Regions from separate parts of the Homo sapiens genome. Here region 2 is linked to region 1. The links are contacts of gene promoters, found by promoter capture Hi-C in blood cells and fetal thymus (Javierre and others, 2016). All regions are on one chromosome and are shown on one strand. The core of a region is centred on a gene start or on the middle of the fragment in contact, and the rest is flanking DNA. Distances in the headings are between cores, read along the strand shown.

What was found. The method cuts DNA at HindIII sites, captures the fragments that hold promoters and counts their contacts. A CHiCAGO score of 5 or more calls a contact.
Region 2: a fragment that was not itself captured here is called in contact with the fragment with the promoter of SRPX in region 1 in 4 of 17 cell types (M0 macrophages, M2 macrophages, M1 macrophages and 1 more); the score reaches 6.4 in M0 macrophages.

Annotation. Positions count from the first base shown.
Region 1 is chrX:38,218,240-38,223,818 of GRCh38, reverse strand. It overlaps SRPX (sushi repeat containing protein X-linked), which reads left to right and starts at 2,948. Exons shown (of 10, transcript NM_006307.5): 1 at 2,948-3,123. The coding sequence starts at 3,027. It overlaps LOC124905176 (a long non-coding RNA gene), which reads right to left and starts at 2,911. Exons shown (of 2, transcript XR_007068212.1): 1 at 2,020-2,911; 2 at 127-397. The HindIII fragment of the contact is 8,549 bases long and covers 1-5,579 here.
Region 2 is chrX:37,928,084-37,933,662 of GRCh38, reverse strand. It overlaps a transcript of SYTL5 not described here. Among named protein-coding and RNA genes, the nearest start is that of H2AP, 60 kb to the left of the region's middle. The HindIII fragment of the contact is 1,673 bases long and covers 2,536-4,208 here.

The DNA.
Region 1 (5,579 bases), core at 1,699-4,198:
GTTAGGTAAAAATGAAAGGGTTATTTCGATTTATTGATACAAGAGGCAACTGAACTTGGATCTGTCCTTCAAGATATCCTTGCACAATGAAAACAACAAATGTTATTTTTCTCTGTAAACATTATATAGAGATGTTTCTTCAAGTCTTTTATTTTTGTTTATTTTTTTAATGGACACATTGTAAATGTACATATTTATGGGACCCCCATATCTACAAAAAACACTTAGCTGGCCATGGTGGCACATGCTTGTAGTCCTAGCTACTCAGGAAGCTGAGGCAGGAGAATTGCTTGAGCACAGGTGTTTGAGGCTGCAATGAGCTATGATCATGCCACTGCACTCCAGCCAGGAAACAGCACTCCTTCTGGATAAACAAATTCAAATTCAGAATAAGACCCTGTCAAAGAAAAAAAAAAAAAAGAAAGAAAGAAAAGAAAAAGAAAAAGAAAAAATCAAGTCAGTATTTTTTTTTTTGAGATGGAGTCTAGCTCTGTTGCCCAGTCTGGAGTGCAGTGGCACAACCTCTGCCTCCCAGGTTCAAGTGATTCTCCTGCCTTGGCCTCCCGAGTAGCTGGGACTACAGGTGTGTGCCACCACTCCCGGCTAATTTTTGTATTTTTAGTAGAGATGGGGTTTCACTATATTGGCCAGGCTGGTCTCAAACTCTTGACCTCAAGTGATCCGCCTACCTTGGCCTCCCAAAGTGCTGGGATTACAATCATGAGCCACTGCACCAAGCGTCAAGTCAGTATTTTGCGTGACCATCACCTCATCCATTTCTGATTTCTTTCTTTGTGGTGAGGACATTCAAAGGCCAGAGAGCAAGTCAACAGTAAGTGTGGTGTTTCTTGTAATCCAGCCAGAATCAGTGGATAGAAGTGAGCTAGAAGTTCCTTCTCAGCCCAGTAATAGAATGTATACTGGTTGTGGTGAAGACACATTGCTTCAGAGGTGACATAGGAAAGGAAGGCTGCTGGCCAGGCTATCCTGGACCTGGAATTTGGGGTGCACATTAACCCTTGTTTACAGACCTAAAGAAGTAGTTCTCTATTGGGGGCATTTTTCCCCTGGGGGACATTTGGCAATGTCTGGAGACATTTTTTTGGCTGCCATAACTGGGGAAAGGGGGATTGCTAGTGGTATCTGTTGCATAGAGGCCATCGATGCATCTCTCAACGTGCAAGGCAGTCCCCCTCCCCAAGAAAGAATCATCTAGCCCCAAATATCAATAGTGCCCAAGTTGAGAAACTCCTGGTCTAGAATTTTTATCCTATACTAAAACTTATACCGTGGAGCTTAGCGGATTGGGGAGAGACAAAAATATGCATCTGGTCAAACTCCAGGTCACATTCCTAAAGATTCTGATTTTATTAGTGTGAGGTAGAGCCTGGATATGGTATTTTCATGAAGCTCCCCAGGTGACCCACATAAACAAGGTTGAGAATGACTCCCTGGAAAGTCTGGTCTGATGGAGGCCACAGAATAGACTGACCTCCCCCATTTCCTTGCGACTAGGGGGTTATTTAAGGGTTGTTGGTTCCCTGAAGAGGTAGCAGCAGTGGAGAAACCCACAGGAGATGGAGCGAAGTCCCCCCAAGTGCTAGAGAGGGTAAGATGGACGTTCAAGTCTGGGGCTTTTGTGAGAATTGGGAAATGGCACTCCTTCTGGATAAACAAATTCAGAACTTCTAGGTGAGTGCCCCCAGGGCTCTTAGCCTAGCTATCAGACCAGACTACTGTGGCAGAGAGAAAGATGCCCTTCTAGTGGATGTGGCCCCTGCCAAGACGCAAAGCTCCCTGAACCCAAAGGCATTTGGATTTTGGCTCCCACTTGCCCCTTCCTCTGGATGCCTTTGTACAGTGCCCAAACTGCACAACCTAATGCAGCAACTCCAACTAAAATTTGCCTTAGCTAAGATCTTTCTGAGACAGCAAAGGGGCAACGTATTGCCTTACTGATTTAACAAGAACTAAACAACCAAAACAACAAACAAACAAACAAAACTATGAGAGGCTTACTCAAATGCCTCAAAGAAACCAGATCCGTCCTGCGGGCAGCCTAGAAACCCTGTCCTGATGCCAGGATCCAGCGATGCCAAGCCACAGGGAAGAGGCTCCAGTCTGGTCGTGGTATCTTTGGGGTGGTTGAGAACAACCCAGGAAATGAGGAAATCTGGCTGCAGGAACCTACAGCTGGATCCCCATGGCTGTGGGTGAGACAGAGAACTTTCTGTGCCTTGTGCTCTCCCATCAGCTGATCCTGGAAGGAGAACCTCAAGCCCCATCCTAAACCGCAGCAGAGCAGGCACGCACCCGGTCCAGTCCTTGATTTATTCCTTTGCAAAAGAGAAACAAACTAACAAAAAATCTGTAGTATGGACTTTGACGTCGGCAGAACTACACACCTAAGTTCCAGTCCCTGCTCTGCCAGTAACGGGGGTGAATCTGGGCAAGTTTCTAAGCGTCGGTGTCTTATTGGAGAAAGTGGACATGGTAATAGCGAACTTGGGGCATGGTCGTGAGGATCAAAACAGAGAACATGGCCATAGTATCCGGCCGCAGTGGGCCACTCTGAATCCCCTCGGTTGCCCCTTCTGTTTCCGTGTGACTCACGCAGCTTTCTGCACAGATGGTATCCTTCTAGACGTCTGGGATGTTCGAGGCGGTTGTATTGAATACCGTGTGTGTATTCCGGGTGAGGGGGCGCGCAAATTGGGGCAAAGAAAGCTACTTCAGGATATTTCGCTCTGCTGGGGCTTGTCTCCAGCGCTCTCTGGCCAGAAAAAGCGCTGGCACAAAAGGAGGAGGTGGGTGGGTCAGAGCCCCGAACCGCGCAGTGTTCCAGGGGGGGCGGAGAAAGGAGGGCAGGCCCCAGGCAGGAAGGAGGGAGGGAAAGAGGCGAGAGGAGGAGTTTTCCAGCCCGGCCTTCGCCCGCCCGCTAGCACGCAGTCCCTTGGTCTCTTCGGTCTCCTGCCGCCCCCGGGAAGCGCGCTGCGCTGCCGAGGCGAGCTAAGCGCCCGCTCGCCATGGGGAGCCCCGCACATCGGCCCGCGCTGCTGCTGCTGCTGCCGCCTCTGCTGCTGCTGCTGCTGCTGCGCGTCCCGCCCAGCCGCAGCTTCCCAGGTAGGATCGGAGGCGTGGCTGCCTCCTCAGCTGGGCACCAAAGACCCCCGGAGTCGCCGTTGGGACCCTTCGCTCGGGATAGAGGGAGGTGCCGGGGGCGCCCTTTGTTTGCGCAGAACTCCTCTTTCGCAGCCCGAGGGTGGGGATGATGCGGATCGGGGCTGGTGTCTGGGCACGCGCCGGGAAGAACTGACCATCCCATCTCCAGGCGCGGGGCGCCCTCGCGGCGACGGGAGCCCTAGCACCTTCTGCGTCCGGGCTTCCAGAGTTCCAATCAAACCCTTTTCGGTGTAGGAGGCTCCACAGAGAAAGTTTGGCCGCAGACTAGTTTGCTACTTTCTCACCCCCAGAATTTTGCCTCTCACATGGTTGCCCACTGGAGGCTGGCAGCTTGTCCTGGAAGGAGCCTCTATGCCCTCCCACTACACGTCCCAGGCTACCCCCTTGGGGCCGCAGGACACGAGCCACGGTAAAGCGACTTTTGTGGAAGGCACGGGCGGGGCCTCCCCTGAATCTCTTAACCCCCCCTGCTGGGGATTCCGAGAAAGTCTGCGCCTCTGAGGAAGAATTGCCAGCTGAGAGTGGTGACATGTGGCATGCACTTGATTAGCCCCAGGGAAAGAGGGCTACTCGCGCAAGGATCTGCTGGGCAGAGGGTGCGGCTTATTCCTGGAGGGCGTGGTCTCCGGCATCTAAGGGGGCCCTGGTGTTTCTTGGGGGCTCTCATGGTGTGAGCAAAATTCTCTTTGGAGATGCACTTTAAAAAGCTCCAGCTAACTTCCTCACCCTGGAGTCTTAGGTTAGCGAAGAGCTTCAGGGGAGTAGGGCAATGTGCCATGCACTCCTGTTGCCTCGGAATGGAGAGGAAATCCATGGATGCGTTTTAATTTAGTGTTAATGGGAAAGTGGGTGACGTCGGCTATAGGGCGTGCAAATATTTGGCTCTGCGTTCAACACCGTGGGCAGCTTAAATCTAGGGTATGAGAAATGAACCTACTGAGTTCTGGTAGAAGGATAGAGGATGCCCATCTTTCTAGCAGTGTGCTTGGGAGATGTAGGGATGGCTGCGGGAAATTCTCTGCACGCACCTAAATAAATGAATGAATAGAACAAATTTGTAAATTAATAAACAGGAACATTTGTGTTTTGAGCTGACTCTTAAGTTTTAAGCTGCTTTGTAGGAACTGATTCAGGGTAAAGTGGAAAGGAAATTTTATCCTTACTGCCAGGCAACTGTTATTCCCATGGTGTGTTAATACCTCCTCTCCCACCCCCTTTAGCAGGAATCAGGTTAAAATGAACCTGTAGGGGAAGAGGAAGTCATTAAGCGTCCCAGAAGCAGCTTTCTGGGAGCGGGCAAATAAGGTGAGAAGCTAGAGGTAGCTTTTCCGCACTGAGTTGGGAGGTGCCTGTGAGCTGCCTGGGAACCTCAACTTTTAGTTGAGCCTTTCTCAAGCTGGGGACCCCTTCTCCTTTTCCATCCGACCTCCCTCCGTTCTCCTCCCCTGCCCTCCCCTCTCCTTTCTCTCATCTTCCACCTTTATATAGTACAGCTTGCTACCAGGGCCCAGCCACAGAATCATGAGTTCGCCAGTTTGGGCATTCACTACCACCTGTCTTTTGGGACCTATCCCTGGCTTTCCTGGCTCCCTCTGCCAGCCTGCAAGCTGCTCCCAACTTTTAGCCACCATGTTCCTGCTTGCCACCACCTCCACTGACTCCTAACCTGCCCTCCGGCTCTGCTCAGACCACAAATGAGCTGAAGCTGATTGGAGCTGCTTGATAAACACTCCTCTTGAGCCTCCTTTTGGCATGGCTCAATGGGGTCTCTTGGGAAGTGTGCTCCGCTGAGGTTGTGAGATCCAGAGGAGGGGATTTCAGTCCAAGCCAGAGGCTTTGGAAGGCTGGGGAGGGGAAAATCTCTAGGCCCTTGGGTCTGAAAGCAAATCACATAGGCTGAGTTCACTCTAAGTGCTGGGTGACAAATTTTAAAGATCATTTCAGAGACACTCTCTTAGCAAGTGGACATCATATCTTCAGTAAGAGAGAAAGTGAAGGACTTGAATCTGGAACTTCTGAAAGAAGATGGAGATCTAGGGCTCCATCAGCAAGTCGATTATGTAACTATCTGCACGTGAATAGCACATCTGTCAGAGTGAGAGTAAATCATTCTCATTCCCACTCCTAGAAGGTCTCTGGAGTTCTTCCATCTTAGAATTTAATGCAGCTTTTCTGGCTCTCTGATCTATTTTTTGCAGCCTAGCAAAGATGCAGTGTCTATAAAAACCTACATGAAGTGTATGGAAAATTTGTAGAAAAGTTGTTTGTGTTTGACTGTGTTTGTATGCTTATAACAGATGAGAATTTAGATTCTGTTCTTAAAATAATTCTTAGAGCTGTATTTGCATGTGAGATAGTGGTGGTTCACTCTGCCTCCTTCTGCAAACAAGGCTGAA
Region 2 (5,579 bases), core at 2,123-4,622, 290 kb after region 1:
TGTCTACCTCAATTGCAATCTATGTACCACCTCAGGCAGCTTCAAGGTTCAACAATTGCCTCTGTTGTTTTTGACAAATTCTCTGAAGAAAAAGCTTTACATACTGAGCAAGCTCCAAGTCAGGTAAAATAAAGACAGCTTTGAGAGTGATCTTTCAGGGAACCACAGACAGGTCAAATAATGATAATTCTCTGGAATGTTGCAGAGTGCTTCAACTCTGTTCTACCCTTTCCGGTGGCTGTCAGGATGCTGGTTTTCACTGATTGTAGGCTATTGGTTTTTTTAAGGCTACCATGGGGCTGAAGAGAGGGGGATGGGAATATGGAAAGTTAAAATGCCAGAAATTTTTGCAGTTCTTAATGAGTTTTAGCCATTGTTCTTGAATAAATGCTCCCCAGATTAGCGCAACCCTTTGGTTAATTTCCAGAGTTCTGAAAATGTTGATTCTGACCATTTTTCAGTGTTCTTATTATTTTTATGTAGGAGTGAATTTTCAGAGGTCCTTACTCTGCCATTTTCACTCAATGTGACATTGACACTGCACCATTAAAAAGTGGAGTCTATATCGCCACCTCCTTTAAATCTGTGCAGGCCTTGTGAGTGCTTTGACCAACTGAGTCAGTGGAAGTAATGCTACTCCAGTTCCACTTGTAGGCCATAACTGCCCTGGCAACTCCTACTTTCTGCCTCTTGGAAGCCAGCCATCCTGTAAGAAGGGCAACTACCCCGAGACCATCATGCTGTGAGAATCTCAAGCTACACGTAGAGGCTCTGAAGAATGATACAACATGTAGAGAGTGAGAGATCAAAGAGCACTAAGGTACTAGGCATGTGGGTAAAAAAATTCTTCTTGGAAGCTAACCTCGCAGTCCCATCTTTTCTAGCTCATACAATCTGAACCAGAAATTTGTCCTGCTGAGCCCTTCTCAAATTCTTTGCCCACAAAATTGTGAACAAAATAAAATAATTATTTTTAGCCACTAGTTTTTGAGGTGGTTGTTATGTGACAATATAGCCAAAATGGTAGATAATTAAAGCCAGAAACAGGAGATTCTGCTCTGATGAAAACCAGAGTCATTGTGACTGCCATTACTGCTATTCCAACACCCTCAGTGGGTACCTTTATCATTAAGCCTTTGAAAATTGTTTATTTGTTCTCCTTTTCAATTGATTTATAAAAGGAATGCTACCATAATTCCTCCTAAATATTCCTTTATTCTCTCTCCTCAACTCTGTCTTGACTCATCATGGGGTTTTTGGAGAGACAGAAGTCAATTTCAGTTTTGAAGACATGAAAAGGTTTACCCATCTCTTTAAAGTAAAGATGGCTCCCCCTCCATTTTACCCCAACCCCTACATTTCCTGTGTTACACCATCATCATTCTCCACAGTGACAGCAATCCCAGTAAATAATGTCTCCTCGCTCCTTCTCTGGGACTCAGCTGTTTACTGCTCCATGCCCCTCGATATGTGCATCATACAGACTTCGTGTGGACAGTATGAGGATTCCTAAGTCCTTGCACAGTTTTTTAATTCAGAAATAATCAGTATTGTTACTTTATTTTTTTAATTCTTAAAATTTACTTTTAAAAATAATATTCAATTACTAAAACAACATTTAACAAGCTAGCTTTCCTATAAGTCTTTAAGACCAGTTTGCAAATCCTATTATTCTATTTCTATACACACTAAATTTTAACAGTGACTGACTAGAAAACCTTTAATTAATATTTAGTCAACTCAAATTGAGCAGACTGAACTCCTTAAACTATTAGCCACTGACTAGAAAACCTTTAATTAATATTTAGTCAACTCAAATTGAGCAGACTGAACTCCTCAAACTATTAGCCCTGTTTATAATTCAGTTAATTAATTTACAGGATTTGAATTACATTCATAAATTTATTATATTAAAATTTCTCTTTAAGTATTTCAAAGCCATGACCTAAAACCAAAGCTTTATTCAGTCATTCAGCAAATTTTGGAGCACCTACTATATATCAAGCTCCTTTATAAGTGTTCTGGATACAGCAGCAAGCAAAACAAAATGCTTGCCTTTGTGGAGACTGTATTTTAGTGGGTAAAGTAGGTAATAAACAAGTATATGGTATCATTCCAGATACTGATAAATGCTCTATAGAAGAGAAGGTAAAGTGATATAGTCACTTTTTATTGAATGGTCAGGGAAAGCCTTTTAGAAGGGCTAACATTTCAGAAGAGTACCAAATAAGATATTTTCACAAAACTTAATGCTAGAAAATCTAAAAATTCAACTTGAGACCTAGTGAACCTGAACTTCTCTTAGGCCTTCAGTACTGTTTGCTAACTTAGTAAATTTATCTCACACTTTCCAAATATCATTCAAAAGACTAAAATCAATGACAAAATCTTACATTTGGAATTGGAATCATAATCTAAGTCTTGCATATTCTCTAACATGCCAAATTCTCTCTGATATTGCAAAACCATTAAATACCAAATGGATACAGTATTACAATTATTATGAAAACCTATCCCAAAATTTAATTCTAAGCTTATTTTTAAAACTTTAATATGAAGGTTAGAATGATTGAAATAATGACGTAAATTCTTTACCCTTCCCTGTATCCATGCCATTTGCCAATTGACTGCAGTTCCTCCTATCAAGAGACAATATATTTTCCTACCCCTTGATTCTGAGTCCAGGCACATGTCTTATTTTGGAAAATGTGATGTTAACAAACATGAGACAACTAGAGGCTTGAAAAAGTACTTGTTCTCTTTTTCCTCTATCATTGCCATGAGACCATACCTGGGCTATCCTGCTGGAGGATGAGGGACACATGGAGGAAATTTGAGTTGCATCACAGAGATTTTGTGGTTGTTACACAGCATTATAGTAGAGAGAGATAACTGATGCAAACCCTGTGTTTGTTCTTCATGTTCCATGGGTAGAAAATAAACTTAACAACTAAGACACAATGTTTTCATTTCAAGGGAGCTGAGCATTTTGTGCGAAATTAATCAGGATGAGATTCACCTGCAAAAGTAGCTGACCAAGGAAAAATGTACTTCCCCTGATGTAAAAGTCTAGAGAAAGGCAGTCAGATTGGTACGGCAGTTTCATCATGTCAAGGACCCAGGCTCCTTCTATCTTGTTGCTCTAGTATAGGTCACCTCATTGCCAATGATGACTACTCCAGTTCTAGCCATCTTATCTATACTCCAGCCACAAAGAAGGGAAAAAAGGGAAAGAATAAAGATAGGCTTTTTCTCTCTTCAGAGATAGCTTCTGGATGTTGTACATCACTTCTTATATCCCTTTGACAAAAACATATTCGTATGGTCAAACTTGGCTATAAAGAAGGCTAGGAAATATAATCTTGATTCTGAGCACACATGTGCCCAGCTAAAAATCTGGGGTTCTATTAAAATAAAAAAGTAAATTATAATATTTAAGGATAACCAGCTGTCTCAACATAGCAATCTCAATGCTTAAGCAAACTGGAATTACCAACTAGTTAAACCAGGGTTACCATCTCAGCGGACGGGTCAGGTTGTCAGGACACAGAATCTACTAGGGTAAGGCCCTAATAGGTGCCCTTACCCTTTTATACATTTGCTATGAAAACAAGAGACTCTCTATCTTTTTGAGAGGGATTGGTCTTTGTTGGTTTCAGGTTTTACCCTAAAGTTAATGGTTCCATTTGACTTAACTAGAAGTCGACCCCGAATTCCAATTAATTTTCAGCTAACTTCCTTCAGTTAACCTCTGTGCAGCCTGACTGAATTCTGAATTCTTATTATATTTTTTTCTTTTTAGAAGGATGAAAACCAAATCAGTTATAGTTTTCACGTCTCTCATTCATAACCCTAAAGTCATCTAATAACATATTTGTCAAAGTGCTTTACATAAGCAACTCTGGCATTCCAGCTTTCTGAGATCTCTCTTTTGATTTAGCAAAAGGAAATAATTTCCTCAAATGCTTCTGAGGTTTCCCAAAGGTGGCCATTTGTCTCAGATCAGGCTAGGATCACCTCTTCAATCCTCCTCAGACCACCCCTATCCATTTTGTAACTGCCCCTCCCTTTTGTTTTCCTCTGCATGGTACCTTCTTCACTTCTACTTATCTCAACAATAGTTGATGCAAAGCATAATACAGCCTTGCCCATCTTTTACCAAAGCAAAATAAACAGTAGGCTATTATTTTAAAAACTTTATTGAAGCTTTGTGGTAAACAGAGGGTAATTTAAACACTAATCTGGAAAGATTTAAAACCTGTTCTGAGTTTTCTAGAGCCCACAGGTCTTATTCATTCCCAGAGGTCTCATATTGACCCCCTTCCTCTTTAGCCACTCAGCATGCCATCCTGTTGCTGAGAAGAAAAGCCCTTATCTCCTCAGATTAGTGACCTCTGTCTTGTGCTCTCTCTCAAACTCTTGGGCCTACAACACACTCCCTTTAAGGAAGAAAAAACAGGTGAAAAGCCCATTAATAGCACAATAATCCTCCAGAGATGCAGTCTTACTCCAAAGAAAACAACATTTTACATTTTTATGCATTGTAAGATCTGGGCTTTGCCTCTGCATAACTAAGAGATGCATTAAAATATTATTTTTCTTGTGTACACAAAAGCTCAGGTATCCCAGTGATAAATTCTGTCTTCACCTTGGGAGTTACAAGCACAAACTCCAAGGTAGCTTTTTAAAAATAGCAACTTTTAGTCCTGCTTTAAATATTCTAAAGCACATATGACTAATTAGGCAGACTGATAATAATTTACCATGTTAGCTTACCACTTAAATTCCACCTTCCGGATAAGAAATAAGATGGCTTACCAAAAAGTCACTACCACTGGACTAAGATAAAGAAAAAATAAAATTTAATGAGAAATGGAAAAATAATTGTGCCAGTAATCAGGGATGAGTTATTATAATAAGGACTAAATTTGATTTTGGACTTCTTAGAAGACAAAATCAAAAGGCACGAGGGTTTGTCCAGTTGATTAACCTGATGTCTTATACAATCCTATGATGTGGTGAATGGTTGTTTTAGATTCTCTTGGGTAGATCCAGAGAGAAGTGGGGCTAGAACCCACAGCTACTGTGTAAGGCAGGAGTTGGTAAACAGTTTGTGTAGTTGGCCAGAGAGTAAATATTTTAGGCTTTGCAGGGCTTTGTGGTCTCTGTGGCAGTTACTCAACTTGGTAAGTGTAAGACAAAGGTACCCATAGACAATCTGTAACTGAATGGATGTGGCTATGTTCTAATACAAAAACGTGGTGATCCAGGCTTGGCTCACAAAGCAGTAGCTTGCTGACCCCCGGTGTGAGGGTATGTATTAGGTAAGGGACTGCAGTGAATGGATGAGAAAGCTCCTTCTCTGGAAAGGGGGACTAGTTAGGTTGAATGTGTGAGATATTTATTTTGTAACCATTTTCTTAATGGCAACCACTTAAATAGTATAAGGTGCAGGACCCCCAAAACTTGATACAGCCCCCATGCATGGGCAGTGAACAAGTAGATACAAATGTGGAAATGTCATGAAATCAGGGAATGATTCTGGACAGGTATATATGTAATGCCTTCACTTCCTCTTT